Regions from separate parts of the Homo sapiens genome. Here regions 2, 3 and 4 are each linked to region 1. The links are contacts of gene promoters, found by promoter capture Hi-C in human tissues and cell types (Jung and others, 2019). All regions are on one chromosome and are shown on one strand. Each heading gives the region's core, a stretch centred on a gene start or on the middle of the fragment in contact. The rest is flanking DNA. Distances are from core to core; before and after follow the strand shown.

What was found. The method cuts DNA at HindIII sites, captures the fragments that hold promoters and counts their contacts. A contact is called where the count stands out against the background at its distance.
Region 2: a contact is called between a fragment that was not itself captured here and the fragment with the promoter of IGFBP3 in region 1, in 1 of the 25 tissues and cell types used here (IMR-90 fibroblasts).
Region 3: a fragment that was not itself captured here is called in contact with the fragment with the promoter of IGFBP3 in region 1 in 1 of the 25 tissues and cell types used here (heart right ventricle).
Region 4: a fragment that was not itself captured here is called in contact with the fragment with the promoter of IGFBP3 in region 1 in 1 of the 25 tissues and cell types used here (mesenchymal stem cells).

The regions. Positions count from the first base shown.
Region 1 is chr7:45,918,252-45,925,308 of GRCh38, forward strand. It overlaps IGFBP3 (insulin like growth factor binding protein 3), which reads right to left and starts at 3,021. Exons shown (of 5, transcript NM_000598.5): 1 at 2,487-3,021. The coding sequence starts at 2,889. RefSeq lists enhancers at 2,824-3,404, 3,405-3,985. The HindIII fragment of the contact is 8,943 bases long and covers 1-6,458 here.
Region 2 is chr7:46,535,100-46,542,156 of GRCh38, forward strand. No RefSeq gene overlaps it. Among named protein-coding and RNA genes, the nearest start is that of IGFBP3, 620 kb to the left of the region's middle. RefSeq lists enhancers at 1-458, 1,640-2,139. The HindIII fragment of the contact is 6,696 bases long and covers 1-5,863 here.
Region 3 is chr7:46,480,492-46,487,548 of GRCh38, forward strand. LOC105375266 (a long non-coding RNA gene) reads right to left here and starts at 1,087. Exons shown (of 4, transcript NR_187896.1): 1 at 755-1,087. The HindIII fragment of the contact is 5,060 bases long and covers 1,849-6,908 here.
Region 4 is chr7:46,449,656-46,456,712 of GRCh38, forward strand. No RefSeq gene overlaps it. Among named protein-coding and RNA genes, the nearest start is that of IGFBP3, 530 kb to the left of the region's middle. The HindIII fragment of the contact is 7,921 bases long and covers 509-7,057 here.

The DNA of each region.
Region 1 (7,057 bases), core at 1,771-4,270:
TTCTAAGTGCCAAAGAGCTTTTCCTTCCCTGGGTGGGGGTGGGGTAGGAGAAATCCCCCTCCAGCAGATCTCCCTTTTATAATAAAAAGTGCTAAATGAAGAAAGTCTGATGCTTAAAATGGATGCTGGAATGTTAACAGTTGAATTGGAATTTTAAGTATATGACTAAATTCAAGACTGGATCTGCAGCCAGGATTCTCACTCCATTCCTTCTTCAGAATGAACTTGGAGGGGCTGTAAGACCGCTATGGGGATCAAAGGCTACATTCAGAGCCCATGCTCCCAGGGCCTGTGGACCATGCCAAGGTCTGGAGGCATCGGCTTAAGTCCACAATTGAGAGTCATGAAATTTCTCTACTACAACAAACAGGGCTATAATGTGTAACCCTAGCAGGGAGCTCAGGTGGCCCATCTGGTCCACAGTCTATTCTAGAAAGCTACCTGGGGCTGCAATGATTTGGCTGCAGATGCTCTGCTCTCCCCTGGAAGTGGCTACTGGCAGGTCACTCACCAGGGCCTTAGGAAAGTCCCTCTCCTCTCTGGGTCTTAGTTTCCTCACCTGCCAAACAGCTCACTGAGGTCCTGCTGTAAAGTTCCCCAAGGGGTTTCATACCTTGGGAAGCACACATTCCCAGGGTCCAGCACAGAGCCTCACAGAGGAGGTCCCTACCTGCGAGGATTTGGTTTCAATTTCTTTTAATCTTAGCTTGCTTTCTTTTTCAAGGAAATACTGAGATAAAAGAGATACTAAGAATGTAAATACTCTAAGAACATGTAAATAAACGTATTTATACTTCTTTTCTAAGAACCTTGAGTAATTTCTTAAATTTCCTTGGTTTCTTCTTAATGCCTGGGCTGCAGACTAGGGCATGAAGACAAAACAGTTCTATTTAAGCAACAGATAATTGTGACTTTTGACTGTCGAAAATTTACCTTTTTTTGTCAAATAGATTCTAGAAGTCACTTAGATCTTTTTATAATCTTATAACTCACATCAACCTATACTACAGTGCTACTAAGGTGGTAATCATGATGATTGCTAAAGCCCAAGAATGACGATGTGTATCAGTATTTCTAAGATCACTTTTTGAATACCCCAAAATGCACAATAATGTACGACACTTGGCAAATGACATAACTTTGCCCCGAGAGACAAATGCCTCCAGCAGCTTTAACAGCTGACCAGAGCCAGTGTATGTTTCAGGCATCTTGCCTTTCCATGAATCCAGCATTTCTCAGGGGTGAACAGAGCCAGCCTTGCCGAGCCAGAAAATAACTTCACCCGGGCGTGGAACTCTACAGCTACATAAATTATAAAGGGACTGTTCATCCTGCTAGCCCTAGATGGGGGCCTGCCCAGTGACATCTGTCCAACGTGATCGTTGGGGAGTTGGGGGAATTAGGATGGGGAGAATTCTCCCAGCCTTCAGCTGTGCAAGGCAGGAACTTTATTTCTCATATAACTAGGTGAGGCTGGCTAAGAATGCTTGAAAGAACAGCTGCCAAATCCATTTAAACAACCCCCGCTCCTTTTTTTAAGGGAACAATGTGATGCCCTTACCAGAGTCGCTGTCTGCCTGATACTGATAGTGGCTAAGCCAAGAGGGTAACTCTGCCAAATGTTTGCATTTTTCCTCTTCTGGGGCTCCCCTTAACAACATCTCATTCCCCCCCCCATTTCAGATTAAGAAGGGAGACAGCCCTAGGACTGATTCCAATTCCCTTCCGTGTCATTGAAATTGACTTAGTCCACATTGCCCGCACCCACCACGCACCTGGAAGTTTGTTTGAGGTCGGCGCAGGTGCAGGGGTGGCCCGAGTTGTAAGAATGGTATGGTACTGAAAGTGGCACGCGGAGTTCAAACCTACACTCTGTTGTGGCCGCTGGGTAACCTTAAGAAGTTACTTCTTTTTCAGCTTCAGGTTTTCCAACCGCAGAAGATATCAAAACCCGAATCCACTTTACTTGTTTTTGGACATACCGGGACTAGACATTGCTTTGCAAACCAAAAGGCTGTGCAAAGTCAGTATTTTAAAAGAGAGGTACTATTTCCTACAACGTGCCTGCCCACCTTCCTTGGTCCAAATCCGCCTATATCCCCCCCATCCCCAAGCATCCCTGGGATTGCAGTCCGTGTGCACCCCCGTGCGGGGCGAGGAGAATCTCCTGTGTCCAGGATCTTTCCAACAGCTAAACATCGGTACCGCTCCCCTCAGCTCCGGAAACCTTTAACCCATTTTCACTGAAAGCGCTTTGCAATTTACAAGTACTCTGCACTTAGAGAATCGAGCAAGTAGAGGGCCGGCTGGGGAGGGTCCCTCCGGCGACCGCCTTCACCTTTCCCGGAGCGCCTTCAGTTTCCCCACATATTATCTCCAGTGAGAAGAAAAGCGGAGTCTCCCGCAGCGGCACCCAGCAACCCCCAGGCCCTTCGGCGCCAGTGCGCCGGGTGCTGCACGCAGCGCACCTGGCGCGGGCGGCTCACCTGGAGCTGGCGGCGCTGGCAGCAGGTAGGCGCGCAGGCGGCTGACGGCACTAGCGTTGACGCAGAGCCCGCGGCCGTCCAGCAGCGCCTGCAGCGGTCGCGCCTCGTCGGGCGACGGCTGGCAGCGAAGGCCGGAGCCACAGCGCTCGGTGTAGATGCCGCACGGCTGGCCCTCGCTCAGTGCGCACGTCAGGCAGCAGCCGCAGCCCGGCTCGCGCACCAGCTCCGCGCACACGGCGGGCGGAGGCGCGCACTGGGCCAGTGCACGCGCGTCGCACGGCTCGCAGCGCACCACGGGACCCAAGCCCGCCGAGCTCGCGCCAGCCCGCGCCACCGGCGGCCCGCGGAGCAGCACCAGCAGAGTCAGCGCAGCGGCCCAGAGCGTGGGTCGCGCCCGCTGCATGACGCCTGCAACCGGGGCACGCTGCTTGGCAGGCTGGGCGCGCAGGGATGGGGCGACAGTACACGGCGCGAAGCTGTGGAATCCAGGCAGGAAGCGGCTGATCCTCAGCGCCCAGCCGCAGTGCTCGCATCTGGGCGGCCCGGGCGCGCCGGCCGCTATATAGAAGCCGGGGTGGCCCAGGACACGCCCCGGAACGGCGCGCCCAGGAGTGGGGGTTGGGAGGGGGGCGGGTCGGCGCAGGCACGGCTGCGGGGGCCCGTGCTTCGCCCTGAGCAGCCGGGGCCGAGCTCGGGGGCGTGCAGCTCGAGACTCGCCCGGGCACCTGCTCCTCGTGCGCACGCCCGGAGCCCGGGTCACCTTGTCGTCTACAAGAACCAAGGTGTGCCCGGCCACCCCGGCACTCCAGGCCACCTCAGCACCCCCGGTCACCCCAGTCACTCCTGGCCAACTCAGCACCCCCGATCTCCTTGACCCCGCCGCCCTTACCCCTTCCGCTCTCGGGGTGAGGTCTCCCTGCGGCGAGCCGGTGTCGGGGAAACTGGCATACAGCGCTCCGCATTCGTGTGTACCTCGTGGAGCTTTCTAAAATTTAATTCCGTTGGCAGGCGAAGTCTTGGGACATTTCTGACTTACATTTGGGTCTCAGGGAGCCAAGGCACTGCGGGGTTTAATTTACACCCGCTGGGCTGTTTATATCCCCAGGGGCCCACAAATACGCATCTGAAGATGCGCCCGGGGCCTTCGCCCCTTTCCAGGCTTACTTCTCAACGCAAGAAGACTCTCACGTGTTGCTACACCGCAAGTCTCCAATTAAGAGTGGACCGGCAAGCGAATGCGTCCTTAAGGCAGGGCTTTTCAAATATTTTAAATGACAACTGTTCTTCTTGTCTTGGGTATTCTCCCTGATTATGTTTTCAAATGGAGTTTACACCCATGACAAAAGAATAATAAAGACAATAAACTGGGCACTGCTGAAACGTAATTAACCAAATAGTCCTTTAATAGGCAATTTTCATTGTCATTTTTTGAAGGCGACTTCGTATTACTGTATTCTCGATGCGTTGGGATTCTAGCTTATCTCTGCAATCTAAACACTTTTCAGTAAAGTTCGGGGGCGCAATTGCGCGCTGAGGTCGCTGTAACTCCTGTCGGCCTTCTCTGGCACTCGAGTTTCTTCAGTTTTGTCTGCGCACCCCCTCCCTTCGGTGACCAACAGAGGACGCTGGTGGTCCAGGATTGGATTGAGGATTAAATTTTTCAAGGCACTTTTCCAAAGAGTTTGTGGGGGTGGAGTGGGAAGCGGTGAGACCTCCGCGGGAGGAGACTTTCCTGAACGCTGTTGAAATTGGACGCTTGCCTTAGGAGGTGGATAGGTGACTTGAAGGAGCCCTTTGCAGTTTGGAGTAGTAATAGCAAATCAGGAGCTCCTCCATTCCCCTCCAGCACGAAGCCTTGGGTGAAGTTAATCTTCATTCATCATTTCTGTCTCTCCTAATCGATCTCTCGCCCAGTGTCTCTCCTTGTCCCTCTCCCTCCCTTTCTCTCTCTCGTCCTCTCCCCTTTTCCCCCTGTCCACCTCTTCCCCCATATCTATACAGCTTCCTTTTATACATATATACTCTCCTTTTAGAATGGAAAGATCAATTTCGTTCCCTCTTGTACTAAATAAATAAATAATTGGACCTCTACAAATAAAAAGAGACCAAAGACAAGAACAATGGAGTGCCCCGGGGTGACGAAGGCCCAGCACCGTCATTTTCTTATGAGCTCTTCTCCCACAGTGCTCAGGCTGTGGCTACACTCAACCTTGTTTACAGGAAACCGTGCCATAATCGTCGCTTGCTGTTTCCTTTCTCTTGTATCACCTCCTTCTAGTATCTGCGTTGACACCCAAGAACAGGATCTCTGATTTCATTGGAAAATTGAAGGAAACAAAACGAATCCCCCAGGTTTACATCCGTTCCTTAAATACTCGCAGAGACCTTGACTCTGAAATTAGAGCTGGGTTCGGCATCAAATGCAATTCTTGAGGTCCCAGGTCTGCAGTTCTGGTTAGTGCAATGTTGCAGCAGAGCCTGGACTGACCACTGGTTAGTGTAGCACTTTTTATTCAGCTTTATCATCTGGAGAGTGGACAGGGGAAGATCAGAAACAATGTCTTTTTGGAAAGGATTAAAAAATTTGTTTTATTCTTGGTTCTCTTCTTTTTTCCCTCGCATTGCAGTTGGAGAAACTTGTTCAGTGCCGAATGGCTAGGGGGCGCCAAAGCTCCAGGCGTCCAGCCCGGCCTCAGGGACCACGGGACACACGTAAAGACTAAGTCACATTTCAACTTTCAAAGGCTATTCCAATAACAATGTTTTATATAGATTGCCATCACCTTTATCATGACATCTTGCAACAGCAGAGTAAATTTGAGGCAGTGACACGGGGAGAATTGTGTTTTGTTATTTAGCCAGTTTTATTTGATAACTGCAAGCTCCCTGCCCCTCCCGGAACATAATTGTTGCAGGAAGGATTTGGACTGGATAAAACTTAATTTTGTGACATGCTCGTTAATTCTGTTAAACTTCCAATTCATCTGGTGTTTGTAGTTTTTAACATAAACTAGTATTTAGTGAGAAAGATGTTTACCCCCTGTGAAGGTGCTTGGCATACAATTGCTAATCATTGCAAAAGTAGCGAATAACCATCCGAATAGAGGTCAGGAGGCTGCATAGATCTCTTTTCACTAACGGAGTCCAGCTGACCTGATTATAATTAGTGTTTCCTTTGGTCAGCCTCGTTATTTTCACCAGGTGACCTAAACCACTCATTTCTTTGAGCCCACTCCTGCTGCTAAAGGGCACCTTGTCGCTGCGTGATACTGGCTCCTTTGCTTTTCTTCTGCTCAGCCCCCAGCTGGACAAGCCACCCTAGGGTCTCTCTCCTTCTGACAGCACTACTGTTTCTCAGTGTCCTCTGGGGTGTGGCTATCAGTCTTACTGACCACCAATAGACTTAGAACAGAAAGAGCCAAACTTCTAAAGGCAAGCAGTGTTGGGGACCCAGTTGCTAGGACTCAGTGGCTCTCACCCTATAAGCTTCAGGTTTTTTTTCCCCTTTAGGGGACGTATTGGTGGAGACAGGAAATCTAATTTTCTCTCCATCAGATCGCCTGCTGGGTGAGCCTCCCGGAATTACATATACTGGGCTTGGGGATGCATTGGGGACCATCAACTGCCAACATCACGGTGGCTAACAACACTGCAAATGACTTTTACTCACAAATAACATCATTAAGAGTTCATCTATCCACTTAGTCCAAGAATGATTACTAAGCACCTCCATGTGCCAGCTGCAGGATTTCACAGGCTGGCTGGAGTGACTCACCAGAGTCCAGACAGTGGTAGGCAGTGTGACAGCAGAGAAAACAGAGAGGTTCACCGGGTGCATTTATAACCCTGCTGGAGGGATGGCAAACCTGTCCGTGTGGTCAGAAAAAACTTCTGAGAGGTGGTGGCATTTGAATTGAGTCTTAAACAATGTGGGAGAGTCCAGCTGAGAGAGGCAGGCAAGAAGAAAGTATGGGCATCCACAGAGAGTCATTCTGTGTGCCTGGAGGGACGAGGGGAGGGCTCAGAGGGGATGGTGTTGGCATTGTGCATGTGACCTGTGGAAGGCATAATTCTGAGATTTGGAAGAGAAGAGAAGGTAACTGGATATACTGGATGGGGACAGTGGTACCTGTGGCAGTGGAAATCCATGGTCCAGAGACAGGGGCTCCTCAGAGTTAGTGCTGTCCCGTGTCGTCAGACAATCTGGAGATAGATGCTCCAGAGAAGGGGCCTGGACATTGGGAGCCCACCCCATGGAAGGGAGGTTTCTGCTCAGGACAATGATACTCCTGTCATGGCTTTCTCTCACAATAGTGCTACCTTCTACATGTGGGCACCCACACCCTTGCCTACACAGTTAGTCATTTACATGATAAGAGTTACCTCTGTGTCTCCTGGTCATTCAAACAGAGGCAATTCCTGACTCTGTCTAACTTCCAACTTTTCTTCAAGGTTGAAGCTTCAGAACAATGAGAGAGACTGGGGACTTCAATCACAGTAGACTAGAGTTTATTCTTAACTGCTTGCTCAGTTCTCCTCTCAATAGCTTTCTGACATTGGGCAAGTTCTGC
Region 2 (7,057 bases), core at 1,266-3,765, 620 kb after region 1:
CACTGGGAACACAGAAGAGAGAGCCTGGCTCTGTGTGGGGTGGGCTGGTGAGTGCTTCAGGGAAGAGATGCTGTGCTGGATCTTGGAGATGAAGAGGAATTTTCCAACAGATTAAGAAAGGGTGGGCATTGCATACACAAAAGAAAGAGTGGAAAAACATTTAGACAGAAGAATAAGAACCACATGCATTTAACAACTGTATTAGTGTGCTGGGGCTGCATAACAAAGTATCACAGCCTGCATGACATCACAGAAATTTATTCTTTCCCGGTTCTGGAAGCAACAAGTCTGAAATCAGGGTGTGAGCAGAATTGGCTCCCTTCTGAGGCCCTGAGGACAGAATCTGCTCCAGGCCTGTCTCCTAGCTACTGGTGGGTTTTTGGGCAATCTTTGGTGTTCCATGGCTTGCAGAAACATCATTCATGTCTCTACCTTCAGCTGTCCATGGTGTTCTCTGCATGTGTGTCTGTGTCCACATCTCCCCTTTTCCCCACCCCCATCTGTCTACGCACATGGTCGTCTTTGTCCTGGGCTTTCTTCTGCTCATTCTTCAAGCTTCAATTTCCCACATTAGATTTCCTTTCCCCTTGAAAGCCACCTCAGTCCATCATCTTGTCTAGAGATTAAAATATGTCATCCTGGACTAAAATTGCCAGTTTGCCTGACTGTACTTCCACTAGCCTGTAAACTTTTTGAAATTAAGGGCCAGCTTTCTCATTCATCAGTTGTATTTCCAGTGCCTAACCCGGTACATGGCATGCAGTAAGTGCTGAATAAATGTTTGTAGAATGTACGAAAAAATGAATGAACTCAAGCCAGTCTTTGAAAGATGAAGCCTTGACTTATTTTTCACAGAAACTGGACATCTGCCACAGCAGTGGATTTCTCATGAATGATTTAGCACCATCCCCTTGGTGCCGTCCTCATGACAATGAGTGAAACTCTCATGAGATCTGGTCATTTAAAAATATGCCGCACCTTCCTCTCTTCCTCTTGCTCCTGCCCCAACCACGTGGCTTGCCTGCTCCCCCTTTGCATTCTGTCATGATTGTAAGTTTCCTGAGGCCTCCCCAGAAGCGGAGCAGATGCCGTAATGCTTCCTGTACAGCCTGCAGGACTGTGAGCCAGTTAAGCCTCTTCTCTTTGTAAATTACCCAGATCCAGGTATTTCTTTATAGCAATGTGAGGACAAACTAATATAACCCAATAACTGACCTTCACTCTTTCACTTGTACCAAAAATAATTTGTGCAGAACCTGCTCAGCTCCAGCTAAAGGGGGAGTTTCAGCACTTGTGCTCTATGTTGAACAACGCCTAGATATATCCCAACGTTACTGGGTATCCTTGCTCCCAGAGCTCCCAAGATGGTGTTGGGCCGCTTCCAAGATGGTGGCAAGCCTCGTGTTCTCTGACCTGGGGTTCTTGGCCTCACAGATTCCAAGGAATGGAATCTTGGGCCACGGGGTGAGTGTTATAGCTCTGTTAGAAGCCGTGGGTCATGGAAGAGAACCGTGGAACCCAGTGACTACTGTTCAGCTCGATTAGGACGAACGCAGCACTTAGCAGCGCAGGAACATTGGCAAGCCTTTAGCCCGATCAGGAGCGGCAATGGGCACCTCGCTGGATCAGGAGCAGAGAGGACACCCTGCCAAAGGGAGGGAAGTCAGCGGCGGGTCTGTGGCGGCAGCAAACAGCAGTGGTGGATGGCGAGTGAAAGCTCAGCTCGAGCCGTAACAAACATGGACCAGAAGAGAGTGCAGTTGCAAGATTTAACAGAGTGAAGACAGAACTCCTATACAAAGGGAGGGGACCCAAAGAGGGTAGCCGTTGCTGGCTCCAGTGCCTGGGTTTATATCCCGATCATTGTATTGTCCCTCCTGCTGTGTTCTCAGGCGATAGATGATTGGCTATTTCTTTACCTCCTGTTTTTGCCTAATTAGCATTTTAGTGAGCTCTCTCTACCATCTGATTGGTCAGGTGTGAGCTAAATTGCAAGCCCTGTGTTTAAAGGTGGAAGCGGTCATCTTCCCCGCGAGGCTTGGGGATTCTTAGTCGACCTAGGAAATCCAGCTAGTCCTGTCTCTCACCAAGACAGTTCAACAACACCCATCTGTATGGATATGGTAGATTAACAGAATCTCAGGCACATGCCATTTCAGGACGTTCATGCACAGTGGTGTGCTGTGCCAAGCCAGAGTCTCAAACTTCCTTGTGGGAAATGTGAAGGAGATCTCTGCAGGGGAATAGCTATTTTCGAAATTAGAAACTCACAGCATTCAAACATGCTTCAGTTTTCACTACATTCTCTTCTACCAAGTGGAAGGGCTGAGTCAGAAAACTGGTGTGGAATTAGAAAAGATACTGGAAGTATTTTGAATCCATCAAAATAACTAAAATATTTTTGAAGATGTTTTTGGACTGGATAATCCAGAAACATGTTCTGCAAAACTCATCTCCAGCTAATTGACAACTTCATATGTACTTCAAAGAGAATGCCATCATCACGTCTCTGAAACGAGTACAAACCACACATGATACTTTTCTGTTTTAGAAGTCTTTGGATGGCAGCTTGTTCTGGAGCCCAGTGAACTTTGATGAAAGATGGTAAGAAGGGAATATTTCCATAAACATTTTCCCCCTTGAACCAATGGGGTATCATTAAACCAAAGTGAATCAGCAGATGCCCGGCAGGCTCCATTTGAATGGAAATTCACATATGCCAAGTATATCATGCTCTGTAGTCTGGGAAGAAAATATTGTTCTCTAATTGACAAATGGAATTTAAAAGTCAGTATACTCCAAAACTATAGATCTGACTAATGCTACTTTGGTCCTCTTAAACCTGTCTCCACTGAGTTATGATTTAAGAATTTATGACATGTAGATTTAACAATATGTCGCAGCATATTTTTGCATTCTTTTAAATAAAATTTCTACTATATACATTATCTAATGCACTTTATTTATGGAACCATTCAAAATCCACCCAGAACTCATTGCCAGGAAAAGTTTTTTCTACTAGTGACCTGGTGTGACACCTCCTACTTGGCCAGCATTTAATTAAATTTGCTTAATTTATTTTTAGTTCTGTGAGAGATTTAAGATGTTTTGTTTTGTTTTTTGAGACAGAGTCTCGCCCTGTCACCCAGGCTGGAGTGCAATGGCGTGATCTCGGCTCACTGTAACCTTCGCCTCCCGGATTCAAGCAATTCTCCTGCCTCAGCCTCCAGAGTAGCTGGGATTACAGGCACCTGCCACCATACCCAGCTAATTTTTTGTATCTTTAGTAGAGATGGGGCTTCACCATGTTGGCCAGGCTGGTCTCGAACTCCTGACCTCATGATCCACCCACCTCGGCCTTTCAAAGTGCTGGGGTTACAGACATGAGCCACCACGCCCGCCCCTTGTTTTGTTTTTCAAAAGGCGCTGTGGTTAAATACATTTGGGAAAACCTGGATAAATACAGTTAATTGTGATGTAACTGGAAAGCAGCACCAAGCCTTTAGCACTCTGATGTACGTTGTGAAGTTCTGGAAAATGCAGGCTCTGAGGACAACTTTTTTTAGCCAAGAAAACTCTTTCTTTTGAAATACAAAACAACTTTTCAGGTTTAGAGTTCTATAAAACATTCTTGGGGAAATACTATATAATAAGCGTTTTTTTCCCCTCTTTTTCCTGTCTGCATTGAAGCTCAGTGAAATTTTGTGGTCTGCATCTCATGTGTGTTGCTGATTCTTCCTCATGATGTGGGGAGAGGGTGCCTGTGGTAGAAAGGGCAGGACACTACCCTATAGCAGTTTGCCACTTGTAATTGGTGTACAGTTGCGAAGCCTGGCAAGCCTTAATTTTCTGGGGTATAAATTGGCAGCAAAATGTCTACCTTGTGGAATTCTTTGAAAATGTGAAGTTGCAACAATAATGCCATGTACTAATGTTCATTCAAAAATTAGTAGCCACTAGTTACATTTTATCCCATTTTACCTTTACTTATGTATAATTGTCTAAAAATTGTAGTATGTTTTTATTCAAAGCTATTTCAAATTTACATAAGGAAAATGGAATAGCTAAGTAAGTGATTAAAATATTTAAGATATTTAAGTAATTTTAAATAGGAAATAATGTTGGGACTATTTTTCAATTAGCATTTTGCCATATTTTAGGAAATCGATGATAGTTTTTATTCTAGAAAGAAATCAAGCCTAAATATATTGTCTATGTGTTTACGCTAAAAAAAAAGGATTTCAAAGCTCTCTAATTAAAATAAAATATATACATATAATATATATATATATATATTTTATTTTAATGTAGGATTAAAATAAAATATATACATATAATATATATATATATATATATATATATTTTATTTTAATGTAGGAGAAGCCTAAATGTTGGGTAACTTCATTCATTCATGCCTTCATTCATTTAATAACCACTTATGTAACTGGCATAGCCAGTTTGCCAGCGTACTCCAAATGTATCACCTCTCTCACTTTATTTCTTGCCGCACATATATCTAACTACCTGTTTGCTTGAGAATTCTAAAGGCTAATCTTGGAAAAATCCAGGCATGAAGCAGAGATGTTGATAGCAATTTTCTCCCTTTGCAAAAGAAATCAATGCACAATTCATCCATAACTGGATCCCTAGTGAGATAAAACCAACCAGGTCTCTGGATGGTCCATTACTCAAGTCTATCATCAAAAAATGACAAGCAAACCTACACTTCACACCATTCCTGCACATTGTTTCCGTGCTACCTTTCCCTTTAAGGCTCCTTTAGCCCACCTGAGAATTCAAGATAGCTTTTTGAGACTTGATTCTGGCCGTCTTCTAAGTGGCTAGCACTTGAATAAAGCTGCTTTGCTTCCACCCAGCTTTGGTTGTCCTGTATGTGGCTTTTCAAGCAGTGAGCAGCCAATCCTGAGTTTGCTTACAATAGCCAGGTGCCCAGCATGGGGCTACATGCCTCAGGCTATCTAGCCTGCCCAGTATCCAACAGAAGGAGCATTTGGATGCGGCAGCATGCCAAGGCTTACCTGTTCATGCTGTTGGGCAAAGCAAAAACTGCTCATGATTGCTGCTCCTGGCCAGCTGACCTGATGGCTGGGATTCTAGGAATGACCCAACAGCTGCCGAGAACTCTTTTTCTGAGGGAGTCCCCTTGTCTCCCCACTGTGGTATCAGCTGCCTTCAACACTGCACTGGTGTGAAGAAAATGGGGATTGGGAAGCCGACAGGCCTCAGAACTGCAGAAGCTGAACTGGTGTGCTTACCAGAAATCCTGTCTGCCTTTTGAGCTTTGTGCCATTTGGACCTAACATAGTTCGTTTGTGGTACCCATTGCTTTGAATTACAATTTATTAACTTTCCAGTCTCCCTCTATAGGAATTTGCTTGAGAGGACTTCCTTTGTTTGCTTTGATCTCTCTGTGTTTGTGCTCTTCTGTTCTCTACCCTGAGAATGGGTGGCTCAATTTCTATTCCACCTAAGAGCTTGTGAGGCCATATCTTGGATGATTAAAAAGCTCATAGCTACAAACCCATGACAAAAATAAAGCTAATTTAATATTATTAAGAAAAACAGCTACATGTTCTGAGTGATTAGCAAAACGCTCATGTGTTTAACTTTAAGATTCTACTTTGGTGAACATCTGATGTTCCCAGGCTTTAAAAATGGTTAACAAAAAACATGTTTTAATACAAAATTAATTATAAAAATTTTATGCATTATGTTCTTATTTAAAATAAGTTTGTCTAATTCAAAAGTTATCTGAAGATAAATTAAAACTATCGACTTAAAAAGTTATTTATGAAAAACATTTCTAAAATTAACTTGGCTATAATTTTAAAATTTATCTATTGATCTATCTGTTGATTGCTCTATCTATCTATCTATACAATAGTCTTTCTGAAGATTGGTCCCTTGTATTAAAACAAAGTTTTCTTAAGGAATTAAGTTGCTCTTAATAAAATTACAAGAGGTTTTGCTTTTTAATTCTATAGACTGTCTCTTTTTAAAACCTTTCAGATTCATATCTCAGAAGTTCCTTTGCTGCTTTCAGCTTTTTCTCTCCTTGAGAAGGGCTGAGATAGTAACTCTGTCCTTCAACTTTTTCTTCAGCTTCTGTAATTTATTTTCCTTTAGTTTTTACTGTTTTGTGGTCTGATAATAAAATGTTTTATCTTAAAGTGTCCAGAAAAGCAATATTTTCCTGCAGTATAACTTAATTCTGTACTCTTGGCTTTTCTTAGTATGTCTAAATTTTTCTTTTTCTTTTTTATTTTTGAGACAGTCTCACTCTCTCATCCAGGCTGGAGTGCAGTGGCATGATCTCAACTTACTGTAACCTCTACCTCACAGGCTCAAGTGATCCTCCTACCTCAGCCTCCCAAGTAACTGGGACTGCAGGTGCATGCCACCACGCCTCGCTGATTTTTGTATTTTTTTTTTATAGAGATGAGGTTTTGCCATGTTTTCTGGGGTGGTTTCGAACTCCTGAGCCCAAGCAATCTGCTCACCCCAGCATCTCATGTCTAAATTGTTCAATATAATTAAGAGGCTTCTCATGGAATTACTAAGAGTCATATATTTCTTTGCTTTACTCATAAACTTGAACACACTCTCCCTGTGTTTGATTAAATCCAAGTACTTCTTTTAGCAGGTTTGACTACCAGGTTACCTAAATGGACTTCTCACAAGGAAAAACAACCACACTGCAGAAGATTTTTCTTTACCTTTTTGGTAACTGACTAAAAAAAATAAAAACAAAGAAAAAAACCAAGATTTTATATTTTATCAAGATAATTGCTATGTTGTCTTTATTTGATTTTTGATTACTTAGAAAAACCAAGATTTAAGAGGATTAAAATTTTCACATCCATGTAACCTTCTGTATTGCCTTTAAAGTCTTTTATCACTTTGGTGAAATGAGTAACTTATTTTGCAATGACCTGTGATTCTATTTTGATCAAATGTTTTGAGACTTTTAACATCTTTGACAAATGTCCTCAAAATCAAAATTCTAAATTAAGTATTTGACCTAGCCTTATTTACT
Region 3 (7,057 bases), core at 3,129-5,628, 560 kb after region 1:
GGTCTTGGCCTCCTTACTGCTGGGCAGGGGTGAAAGTTCTGACATGTCTCTGGTGGAGCAGGAGGACAGCCTAGTAGTGGTGGAAGCCCTGCCCCACATCTGCCCCACATGTGTGTGGTTTCTGTTACACTGGGGAAGAGGGGTGGCATCCACTAGGTGAGGATATGAGTCTCATGTCCCTATTCTGCGTTCCCTAACACCTCCTCAGCTGCAGGTTGGGGTTGGGACACTTCCCTGCAGCCTATTGTTCTGGCCAGTGAGGGTGGAAGTCTGGGGTCCCTGCCTGGCTTTTCCTGGCCTGGGTGGAGGTGGGGCCACAGTTTTTCCCTGGTATTTGGCTGGAGTGGGGACATTATTGTCTAAAAGTTTCCTGTGTTGCTAGGCTGCCCCTTTCCTGGTGCTTTGGCTAGACACAGCGAGCTTTTTCTTGGGGGATTGCATTTATTTATTCATTTTGTCTGTGCCTGTTGGCCTTTCCTCATTGCTCACTTGTTGAGATCCAAGTCTGTAACATGTGATGCAAAAAGAAAAAACCAGGGCACTCACCACCACATCAGGCCTTGGGTCTGAAGGTCCCTTCCTGGGCTGCCTTCTCTCTCCCTGCCAGTGTCTTTTTATGTTGGTTCATAAGAGACACTGGCAGGCAGAGAGGCATTATGTGTAACGCCCAAAAGTTTTTGTGGGAAGAATTGGGAAGTACATGTGCTCCTCTTTCTCAGTTCAAACCCTTAACCACTGCTCATTTGTAACTTACTTTTCTGCCATCTGGAATCCCCAGAAAAAGATAAATCCCACTCACTGCCCTTCCACATAGGAGCTTTCCATATTTGAGAAGAGCAGGGTTACCCTCTGAGACTCCTCTCTCCAGGCTGCTGCCCGTGTCCTGGGGAAGCACGACCTCTCACCCAAGCAAAAAATCCCAGCGTGGCCTAATCAGGTGAAATAGTTCACAGGCGTCCTCTTGGCCACAGGGCTCCAATCGTAACAGGTGATGTCTACTATCTAATCATCAATTGAATCATACTGAGCTTGTAATCAACCCATAAATAGCTGGAGGTCTTATTCCTATGAATGTCTAAGCTTTTCTAAGTCCCTGTTCTTGCAGGGTTTGGGGCAGAACTTTCCTGCCTCTGTGATGTTTCACTTGTTTGATTTGGGTCATTGTGTCATCGATAGTGCCCCCATTGTGAACACCTGGGCTGTCTCCTACTGGAGACTTGCAATCCACTGCCATTTCTGTCCTTTAAAGAAGATGAACTCATAAAGGAAAGGCTACTCTAACCAGCCCTGAAATGTTTGTGAATTATTATATATGATTCTTATTAACAGTAGTACAGTATTCATTCATATCCTTTGCCCACTTTTTGATGGGGTTGTTTGTTTTCTTCTTGTAAATTTGTTTAAGTTCTTTGTAAATTCTGGATATTAGCCCTTTGTCAGATGGATAGATTGCAAAAATCTTCTCCCATTCTGCAAGTTGCCTATTCACTCTGATGATAGTTTCTTTTACTGTGCAGAAGCTCTTTAGTTTAATTAGATCCCATTTGTCAATTTTGGTTTTTGTTGCCATTGCTTTTGATGTTTTAGACATGAAGTCTTTGCCTATGTCTATGTCTTCAATGGCATTACCCAGGTTTTCTTCTAGGATTTTTATGATTTTAGGCCTTACATTTAAGTCTTTAATCCATCTTGACTTGATTTTTGTATAAGGTGTGAGGAATGGGTCTAGTTTCAGTTTTCTGCATATAAAGAAGACATTTATGCAGCCAACAGACATATGAAAAAATGCTCATCATCACTGGTCGTTAGAGAAATGCAAATCAAAACCACAACGAGATGCCATCTCATGCCAGTTAGAATGGCAATCATTAGAAAGTCAGGAGACAACAGATGCTCTAGAGGATGTGGAGAAATAGGAACGCTTTTACACTGTTGGTGGGAGTGTAAATTAGTTCAACCATTGTGGAAGACAGTGTGGCAATTCCTCAAGGATCTAGAACCAGAAATACCATTTAACCAGCAATCCCATTACTGGGTATATATCCAAAGGATTATAAATCATTCTATTATAAAGACACATGCACATGTATGTCTATTGTGGCACTATTCACAATAGCAAATACTTGGAACCAACCCAAATGTCCATCAATTATAGACTGGATAACGAAAATGTGGCACATATTCACCATGTAATATTATGCAGGCATAAAAAAGGATGAGTTCATGTCCTTTGCAGGGACATGGATGAAGCTAAAAACCATCATTCTCAGCAAACTTTCAGAAGAACAGAAAACCAAGCACAGCATATTCTCACTCATAAGTGGGAGTTGAACAATGAGAACACATGGACACAGGGAGGGGAACATCACACACCAGGGCTTGTTGTGGGGTGGGGGCTAGGGGAGGCATAGCATTAGGAGAAATACCTAATGCAGTTGATGGGTTGATGGGTGCAGCAAACCACCATGGCACATGTTTACCTATGTAACAAAACTGCACATTCTGCACATGTACCCCAGAACTTAAAGTATAATAAATAATTTTTAAAAAGTACAGTAATGATGAAAGAATTCTACTTTCTTCCATAAAAGTAGAAATAAATCTTTTCATTCTAAAGCTTAAATTTCTCCAATTTGAATTGAGTTCATATTTAATGATTGTAATATTATAAAATGCAAACTTAAAACTGAGTTTTCCTATTTGCTGTACTAAAAAAAATTTCATTAAATTTCTGTACTAATTAGTGGTAACTTGTACAATTTGTGACTGCTTTTACATTTACAAAAATAACACCACATCTAGTATCTAGAGCTTTCCTCAGTGTATTTGAATTCTCCCGTTCATATGTGTTTAATTTGCATGTAACCTACCAGACACATAACTACTATCTATTAGGGATCAGTAAAGAAAGGAAAACGTTTCTTAAATATATTTGCATATAAGCCTTTGATGACAAGCAGATGACACCTGCAAAATCTGGAAGACAAATATGGAACAAAGTTATGAATCTAGGAGTTTCCCGAAGACACTAGCAAATTGCCTACCAAGATGTCAGCAGCAGGCAGTACTTAAGTCAAATTAACCTAGGCCACAATCTGTGCCAGGACCCTTCAGGCTCAAACTCTAATTTTCTCTGTGCGCTGAAGCAGATGTGCACCTCAGAGATGGACTCACTTCAACAAAGACCTCATAGAGCCTGGCGGGTTTTGACTACCACCTGCCGATAGCTCTCAAAGTTCAATAACTACTTTCCAACCCTCTTCAAATAACTAATCCTCCAGGGCTATTTGTGTGTGGTCAGTCTGCTTCAGAGTACCATGGGCTCCTTGGAATTGCTTTGTCCAAAGTAGAAGTCGTTCTTTCTCTCTCAACTCCTGTGTTCTCCTGCACACACAGTCTTCCTGGGAGAACACCATTTGCTCACTCCCTCACACCAGCTCCCTGGGGACTTGCCTGACTACTCCCTTTCTCTCTTACTAAGTTTGTCCATTATGCCTTCTAATAGTTCTCCAATATTCCATCTCATATTCATTCTTCTATGATTAACCTTGCTTAAACTGTTGTCATAATTTCTGTGACTACAACATAAATCTTCCAAATGGATCCTATCCTCCAAGTCTCTTTGCTCTATCCCTGAGTTGTCCAATACACTAGCCAATGGCCATATGTTGCTACTGAGCACTTGAAATGTGACTGGTGTAACCAGTTATCTGAAGTTTTAGTAGTATTTAATTGCATTAAATCAAGAAAATATAGATACTGAATTCAGTTGTTAGAAAACTTAAGAATCTCTGGTTGAGCATGGTGGCTCATGCCTGTAATCCCAGCAGTTTGGGAAGCCGAGGCAGTTGGATTGCTTGAGCTCAGGAGTTTGAGACCAGCCTGGGCAACATAGTGAAACCCTGTCTCAATCAAAAACACAGAAAATTACCTGGGCATGGTGGCATGTGCCTGTGGTCACAGCTACTCGGGAGGCTGAGGTGGAAGGATGACTTGAGCCCAGGAGGTGGCAGTTGCAGTGAGCCAAGATCACACTGCCTCACTCCAGCATGGGCAACAGAGCCAGACTCTATCTCAAAACAGAAAAACAAAAAAACAAAAGAGAGAGAAAAAAACCCTTTCAGAATCTCTGAAAAACTCCGGCATGTGAATGTACTCTTCAACTTTAAATTTAATGAAATCTAAACACAGATCGAGTAATTGTGATGAGTTTAGCATCTGTAAATAAAAATATGCTTTATGTGTAAAATACATGCAAGGTTTCAAACACCAAGTACAAGAAGAGTAAGTGTAAACTATCATTAATAAATTTGTGTACTGATGACATTTTAAATGACAAAAGTTTGAATGTATTGTGTTAAATAAATTACATTATCACATTTATTTCACTTGTTTCTTGTGGCTATTAAAGAATTTTAAAATTGCCTTTGTGGATCACACAATATTTCTATTGTTTGTTTCAACCAATCCATGTTCCACCTCTCAATCCATTGGCTGTCTCTCGATCCATATTCCACCTGCTACCAGCAAGTGAAGTGCTCTGCTGACTCTTCACTTCCTCCTTCCTGACATCTGCCTGTGGAATAGAGCCTAGTGTTCCCTGAAGCCTGACTTCTCTGCCCTGCCCTGGGCACTGCAGGTGGAAGTTTCCACATCACAACTCGAAGGCTACTAGTGGAAACACTTCCTCTCCCAACACCACCCCCCGCATGGGGCACTCTACTTAGAGGGTTGCTTTTCTGTCCCCTTCTCTGCCTCAAAGTCCTTTCCTATTACTCCTTTAAGGCAAAATAAAACAAAAACACAAAGCTGGCCAAACTGTATTTGTCATTTTAGAACCAGCTCAAGGGTGTCATTTTCTCCAAAGTGCAGTTGGTGCCACTACCTCCTCCTTGACAGGTAGATCATTGCCCTGGGCTGTGTCCCACTGGGTCGCTTTCCAAAGTAAGTCATAGTAACACCTGCATGCTATCTTTCTCCCCTACCAGGGAGCTCACTATCTCAGAAACCCAGGAAGCTCCTTTCTAAGGAAATACTTGGATGAATAAATGAACTCAACAGCAATGCCAGTGTTACTAATTCACAAAGATAAACAAAAATCCTCCTGCAGGTTGGAATGCACAGTGGTTTGACCAGGCATTTTTTTCCCATATTTGGAAAACTGGCAAAAGCAAGGCTTTATGAGATACAGGATCAGAAAAAAATGAGAGCAGGTAATCTAAAAAGCGTGGTCAGGGCAGTACAGCTGTGGTTTTTGCAAAGTAGCAATTGCTGTCCATGGGTCAATTGTCTTATCTGCCTCTGCCACAACTACTGTCTTTTCTCTGTGTTCATGGCAATTCCCTGACTCTTTGGCCAATGCATTATCTTTAAAGATATTTAAACATATACAATCCAGCCTTGTTAGCCTGAGGTCCATTCTGCCTTTTCTGAGTAGTTTTTTATCAACCTACCACCTGAGTCACTAACCACTTACTATAAATTTACATCAATCACATTTCCTCCATTCCTGAGTTTATGTGGCCACGTGATAAACAGGCTCATACATTGGTGTGTCTCATCGCAATTTTTAATGTTTAAAAAAAGGGTGTAAATGCTTAAAATCATATTTTCTAAATAAGTGAAACAAATGTTAAGCTTTTAAAAAATTTCGATTTCTTACTTACAAAATTTATTTGTTCTTAATTGCTGAGAGTTTGAAATCTGTGCCTGTCTGAATCTTTCATTCACATGGACATAGACATTATCATCCAACATGAAGTGACAAGGCATTTGACAGAGTGAACATGGAGGAAGGCCACTCTTATCAGTGTGAAAGATAGTTGCATCCTATGAGGATAGAAGACACAGAAGATAAAATCTGAAATACAATAAATATGCACTTGTTTATATTTTTCTCTTCTATAATTACCATAGTGACCTCTTACCTGATAAAAATGTCAACAGAGATGGTAGAAGATGGGTCTCAGCTGTGCTCTCAACAGATTCAACATGCAGAAAACTAGTTTTCAGGGTCACAAAAGTTTAACTCATTTAATGAGCTTATTCTTACATGCCATTATTGAATTAAAAGCATGATTTAGTACTGCAGGGTGGAAAAAAGCAAACTGCATTGCTTTGACAGATAAATTCCTCTCTAGCTTCTTTTAGCAATTCCTAGCATTTGGAATCGCTTCCTATTTAATATTTTTTGTTGTCCTTTTTCATTTTTATTCTCAGTAGTCATTCTAAATGTCTTTTTAAACTCATAATGATTTAAACTCCTAGGAGGCTGTGTGAACTTTGACAAATGACTCAACCTTCCTGGATGTCAATTAAACACTACATATTTGCTGGGCTTTAACAATCTAAATAAGATTTTATTCTTCCTTTACAGATACCTTGACATCTCTTATTCTTCCACGTCTTCATAAATTGTATGTCTAACTTTCTCTGTTGGGATGTTTGCACCAATAACACAACAGTGGTTCTCTGACTTGAGTGTGCCTTAGAATGAGCTGGAAGTCTTGACACAACGCAGGCTGCTGGGCCCAGTCCTGAGGTTCTGACTCACTAGGTCTCGGGTGGGGCCTGAAAACTCGTGTTACTCACCAGCACCCAGGAGCTGCTGATGCTGCTGATGTGGCTACCACAGTTTCAGAACCACTGCAATACAGACATCTTCTCAAGGGTGCAGAACACAGAGCTTAAAAGATGTTTGCATGCTTTACAAACATATTAAGATCCAAATGTCCATAAAGAAAGATGTTCATCTCCTTACCTTTTAACTGATGTCCAGATCACCTATTCAGGTTATCTTTGGACTCGGAGATGAGGTGATACATGTGGAGAATTTTCAAACAGTAAAAGCAAGTGATATGCATGGAAGGGAACATGACCATCAGTAGCCAGTCATGACTAATTCTGAAATTTAATCTTTCAAGGCTCCCTCATTCCTCCTTTTGTCTTTGACTCTGCTCTTCTTACCTGCCGGGTGTAAAGGCAAACAGCACCTCTTTGAGCTCAGATGTGTTCTTTACTGGCTGGGAGGCCATGGGCACCTTACCTCAGTTCTCCC
Region 4 (7,057 bases), core at 3,219-5,718, 530 kb after region 1:
ACCACAGTCCAGACTCAACGAAGCATCTGGAGTGGGCATATGACACTTAAATCACGTTGTGTTACTCTCAGACTCAGAACCCTACAGCAGTTTCTTATTTCCCCCAGAATATAAACCAAAGTCTTTAAGATTGCCTTCCAGGCCAGACATTAACTTCACCTTCTGTGCCTTGCTTCTCTCATCTGTGAGTTGGGTATAACGATAGTACCTGTCTCTTGAGATATTCATGAAAGTTAAGTGAGTTAAGACACGCAGTGAGCACAGAATGTGCCCATTATGAGTTAGTCATAATTCTGACTAAGGGCTGGTTTTGGTTAAGAGGTGTCAACTCCCTCAAATTCAGGATGAGATGCAATATTTATGCCTTTTGACACAGTAAATAAGACTCCACCAAGAAAGGCTTGACTTTTGGAGGTGGACTGGGCAACAGTCCTGCAAGTATAAAGGGAGAAATAAAACACTCTATTTTGCCTCTTTTCCTGGCTCTGAGAAGTTCAAGGTAATATTGATAATCTTCATCCAAGTAAAATTTTAGCTAAAAAAATCCACTTAGAAAATGTGTTTTTAATATTATGTCAATTTGATTTAGTGTGACACTGAATCATGTGACCTTCCAAAATCCAAAACCAAAAGGAAAGCATTAGAACAAATCATCTTTTCTAACTTACTGAAGATCATAATCTTTTAAAGACTTTAAGGAAAACAAATATTAAGAGAAGGACAAGTAGCTTATTTCATTTTTAAATAATTATGTTATTAGTAAATGATCATAAAATTAGCTTTAAACTATTCATTAGTCAAGCAAGTGAACCAATGATGACTATTATTCTATATGTGATCATTATAAGACTTGATCATAAGTATGGCACTGTAGAATTTCCCTGGTTTATAAACACATTGATGTAAGCAGATGTTTATCTTCTCTCTCTTAACAAGAGGAAATGAAAGTAACATATTTAGCGCACTCTGGAAGCCAGGCACGCTGCTAGGTAGAGTTCACACTTTGACCTTCCAAAATCAGACAGTGTGAAAGGATACACATCCTAGAATGCTTTTTTGAGGTCCACAATTTTCACATTATCTCTTCCAACAAGATGGCATTTTCAACTATGGAGAAGCTGGTTTCTGATAGTCAGTTTAATGGGAGATTGTCTGTCTACCTAACATGGTCAACAGAAGAATTGAGGCACTTCATTTTTAATTCCCATTCTTTTTTTCTTGCTTACATTTCTCATGTTATTTTTCACCTTTTTTATTATAACTTTATTTAGATAAAGTCATTTAAGTCTTATTGTGAACAAATACTATCCTGGAGATTACTGAATTTTAAAACTCAGTTCAATAGTTATACTGAGCATCTGTGTTTGTCATTTAAAAAGGAAGAAATCATGACTAAGTTTTAGTCACTGCATTCAAGAAGCATCCAAGATACTTGGTGGAAAAAATCAGAGAAATCCACAAATCTCTTTGATCTTATGATGGCAAGATGAAGTCTGTAAGAAATGTATAAAGCAAGCACACTGGGAGTTTAGAAGACCTGGAGAGACCTAGTTTGAGCCAGCTGGTGAAAAAGCACAAACAGATTAAATGAAGAGGTGGGGCTACATGGTGACTTTGGAGTGAAGATGGACGTGTGACAGTTAGACATGTTAGACCATTAGACGAGGGAAATACTTGAAGCAAGAGCATGAGCTTTCTATAAAGGAAAGGAAAGGAAAGGAGCTTGCTCAGGCAGTGAAGAATAGGCCAGTTTGATTGGAGCAAGAATATAGGAAGGGAAATAAATAGTGGAAAATAAGTTTGGGAAGGTAGATGGATAACCTAAAGAGCCGCTAGGGACTTCTTTATTAGGTGAGCAATAGAGAGCCATGAGAGGTTCCAGAGCAGCAACATGGTGAAGTCAGAGCTCAGAAAGACTTCCCAGGTAAATTAATGTGAAATGACAATGAAAGAATATAGGAAACTCTTACATTATCAGGGAGCATTGACAGGGGATATGTGTAGGATTTTCATTACATATGTGACAAATGGCTACAACTTGGCCACTGCAGTATCAGACATTTCTGACCCTGTTAAAGTGAATTTAGCCACAGCAGGGCAGGGAGTAAGGAGGTATTGTAACAATTGGTAGCGATTGCAATGCTCTGAAATTCCCCAAGTGCACACTATGTTCACCCATAAGAAACTATCATGACTTAAGGAAATTTTAGTGTTGCTATATAAATCTGAACACATGTACTCACTACTGCCCTAATTTAAATGATTAAGAAAAAGTTATATAAAATAATCTTTTTGGAATATTACTATTTACTGTGGTGAGATGCATCTTTAGTTCCATCTACTTGGAAAACTGAGATGGGAGGATTTTTGAGCCAACTAGTTTGAGGCCAGCCTGGGCAACATACCAAGACTATACTATAACAAGATTATAATTTCTAAAAATTTAAATTTTAAATTTTAAAAATGTTTAAGAAAGGATATCATTATATATAAAATTTACAGAAGTTAAATCTTAAGCTTTATTATGGAAAAATACTCACATGAATTATGACATCTGTTTCATGGGATATGATGCTGATAAAATTATTGCTATGTCCAAACCGATTGAAGAAAAAAAACAAGTCACAGAGTATATGAGGAAGTTGCCTTATAATAAACAACAAAGCAAGGATGGATTACAGAATAATCATTAGAACAATTGGCTAGATGTTTAGGGCAAAAAGCTGGATCTTTATTCCTCTCATTATATCTTTACGTTTATATGATTCAAAAATGTAAATGGGCAAGAAAAAGGCATAAAAATACCGCAAGAAAGCATGAGATAAGGCATCTTACAAAAGAAGAGTTAAAGTTGGCAATAAGTATAAAATGCAACCAGATAAAACAAAAACATGAAGACATATCAAATTGGCAAGATTAAAACTTCAAAAGACAATCTTAGTTTTGAAGTTTTGCAGAAATACACAAACAATAGTAATAGTGGGGGTGTAAAATTGGTAGAAATTTATAGTGAGCATGTTGGCACTTGTAATGGTTAGTCTCATGTGTCAACTTGGCTAGACTACAGTAGACAACTGTTTAATCCTACACCAATCTAGGGGTTGCTGTGAAGGCATTTTATAGATGTGGTTAGCATCCACAATCAGTTGACGTTAAGTGAAGGAGATTACCCTCTATAATGTGAATGGACCTCATCCAATCATTTGAAGATCTTAGGAACAAAAACTGAGGTTTCCTGGGGAAGAAGAAATTCTGCTTCAAGACTCCAGTATCAATTTCTGCCTGAGTTCCAAGTTTGTTGGCCTGCCTTACAAATTTCAGACTTGTGAGGTTTTGGATTGCCACAATCCTATGAGCCAACTCCTTAAATCTCCCTCTCTCCAAAAAAAAAAAAAAAAAAAAAACCTCTTTCTCACTGAAAAAATATATATATCCTGTTCCTGTTTCTCTGGAAAATCCTGACTGATACTACTCTACATATAAGAATTTAACATGTACAGCTCTATTTTATAAATTTACCTCAATAAGCTAATTTTACAAGTTGGAAAAGACATATATACAAGTATATTAATTTCTGTGTTTTTTTTAAATTATACTTTAAGTTTTAGGGTACATGTGCACAATGTGCAGGTTAGTTACATATGTATACATGTGCCATGTTGGTGTGCTGCACCCATTAACTCGTCATTTAAAGTTAGGTATATCTCCTAATGCTATCTGTCCCCCCTCCCCACACCCCACAACAGGCCCCGGTGTGTGATGTTCTCCTTCCTGTGTCCATGTGTTCTCATTGTTTAATTCCCACCTATGAGTGAGAACATGTGGTGTTTGGTTTTTTATCCTTGTGATAGTTTGCTGAGAATGATGGTTTCCAGCTTCATCCATGTCCCTACAAAGGACATGAACTCATCATTTTTTATGGCTGCATAGTATTCCATGGTGTATATGTGCCACATTTTCTTAATCCAGTCTATCATTGTTGGACATTTGGCTTGGTTCCAAGTCTTTGCTATTGTGAATAGTGCCGCAATAAACATATGTGTGCATGTGTCTTTATAGCAGCATGTTTTATAATCCTTTGGGTATATACCCAGTAATGGGATGGCTGGGTCAAATGGTATTTCCAGTTCTAGATCCCTGAGGAATCACCACAGTGACTTCCACAATGGTTGAACTAGTTTACAGTCCCACCAGCAGTGTCAAAGTGTTCCTATTTCTCCACATCCTCTCCAGCACCTGTTGTTTCCTGACTTTTTAATGATCGCCATTCTAACTGGTGTGAGACGGTATCTCATTGTGGTTTCGATTTGCATTTCTCTGATGGCCAGTGGTGATGAGCATTTTTTTCATGTGTCTTTTGGCTGCATAAATGTCTTCTTTTGAGAAGTGTCTGTTCATATCCTTTGCCCACTTTTTGATGGGGTTGTTTGTTTTTTCTTGTAAATTTGTTACAGAATGGGAGAAAATTTTTGCAATCTACTCATCTGACAAAGGTCTAATATCCAGAATCTATAATGAACTCTATGTTCTTTATATAATTGAAATACTTGACAACAAACGTCCATTTCCTAAGGGCTGGTTAATAGTCATGTAATAGAAAACCATGGAGTCATTACCATAAAATCTGAAATTTGTTTTAATTAATGTTCTTCAGAGTTGGCATTTTTTTTCTCTTCTATTCTTCTAGGGTTATTCTTTGTACAGAGGATGAAGAAATCCATGTGCACAGATTGGACTTCTCCCTTGGGCCGCGGAGATGTTCCCAACTGTCTCCCGGACATTTCCAGCTCAGAGTCAACAGATGATTGGAGAGTTATCTCATCTGCTACATATTTACTTAGTCACATCTCCTAACTGCTCCAATCACCCAAGAGCAAAATCTAAGTGTCTGCCTTAATAGTTCTTATCAATGCATCACCATTCACAGATGTGCATGCACTTATACATACACTCCTTCAATCCATCCTACGTGGTGTTGATTGTATCTCCAATACATTCTTCATAACCCTTCTTTCTTCTCTGCCTTCTACAGTCCCTATCCTGGACAAGACACTAATAATTTCTGAGGGGTATAATTTTAATACATTATTCTCTGAACTCCCTACTGACAATTCATGTTCTTCACATTGCAAATAAAGTTCTCGCTCTCTAAAATGGCAGTTGATTATGTTACTCTCTTTGTATTTGTTTTATTATTATTAATTTCAATCTTCTAAAGTCCCCCCACTGCTTATACTATAGCAGCCAAATTCTCACAGCCCAGAGCTTGGCTTTCTACATTCTGCTCCTGGCAAGCTCAAGCTCTGCAGTTCCGTCTCCTTCTGTTTTCCCGTGGCTTCCCAGGCTGCTGTTCAGTCTTCCTGGAGTCACTCCTGATTGTCTTGTGGTTGCTTGCAGCCTCCTTCTCTGTGCACATGGCATTTTCTGTGCCAGAAACACTGCTAATCTATTATGAGCCTGGTCAGTTTCTGCTTATTCTTCAAGTTCCCTCTCAAGGGGACACTTCTGTAAGTCTTCTTTCAGCATCCTGAGTGGAATTGATTACCACCTGCTTCATGTGTCTTATGACCTTATGGAATCCCTCTCACAGTCCTTTTTCATTGTAATGTCCATCTGCTCCAAACAGACCGTGCTCTTCAACAGTGAGGACTAGGATATACTCCATAACCTAGCCCCACACCTGCAGGAATAGATGTCTTAGTTTAGATTCTACCTAAAAGTAGATCCTGAAGCAAGATCTTAAGTGCAAGAGGTTCCGTTTGGAGGTGATTCCCCAAGAAGCACAAGAGAGAGAATAGGGAGGTGAGGCATGGGAGGAAGGAAAGCTGTAAAGGCTACTAATCAGTGGGTCATCCCTCCAGGCAACTGGGATTCAACTGGACAGGGTGCACCTGAAGAATCATATAGAACATTCCTCATAATACACTAAATCTTATTTTGTCACATCTTATAAATTTATCTTTTGAAGTCAGTCCAAATGAGAGTGGTCTTCAATTCTACATGACCTCTATTTAGATACTGGAAAATAGCGAATGCGCTCTCCCTTTAACCCTAACATTGTCCACAGCTTTGACAGTCACAAACTCTTCATCATAGGGTCTCACTTTTACAAACTCATTCCATTTTATGGCTGTACCATATAAAAATAGTGCCAAGGGCTAACACGGTGAAACCCATCTCTACTAAAAACACAAAAAATTAGCCCGGCGTGGTGGCCAGCGCCTGTAGTCCCAGCTACTCTGGAGGCTGAGGCAGGATAATGGCATGAACCCGGGAGGCAGAGCTTGCAGTGAGCTGAGATTGCACCACTCCACTCCAGCCTGGGCGACAGAGCGAGACTCCATCTCAAAAAAAAAAAATAGTGCCAAGGATTACCCACGGTGCCCTGGAACCTAAGCATGCCAAGGTGTGTGGTGTGGCAGAGAGTACCAGACACTTCTTTGCCCAGGGCTCTAATCAAGCTGCTGGAGTGAAGCCAGTTGTCGTAGTCCATTTGACTCACACACTTCTTGGATCCAATCTGCACACCCGAATTTTGGCTTATGATATATATCAACCTGCATTTCTTCTTGGTTTTCCTTGTAAAATGTACCTATTACTGTGCTTCACAAGAATTCTTGAGAATCTATTCAGTTTAGCCCAGGCACTGTGCCTGGAGTTAGAGAAACAGACACAGACTGAACAAGGGCAGGGCCTGTGAGGTGCTCACACCACGGCAGGAGTCCAGATGTGTCCAGGGTCAGAAAAATGCTTAAGGGAAAGGCTCAGCTGCAGACATGGACAGAGTGTGTCTAGAGACTGAACATGCAGCATAGTCACGTGAGACTTTCCCACTGGCATCTAACTTAATGGAATGTTATGCGTCAGTGTTATGGAATTGCACATGAGCCAAGAGAAAAAACATCCCAAAGATTTTGGTTTTAAGTATTCAGAATATGTGTTTTGCTTACCAAGCCAAGCTATGCTTAACCATGGTATCTAGAAAGGATTTGTTGATTTCTAGATATTCAGTGATTCCATTATTTAATATAAAGGAGCTAATAATAATAAAATAGCT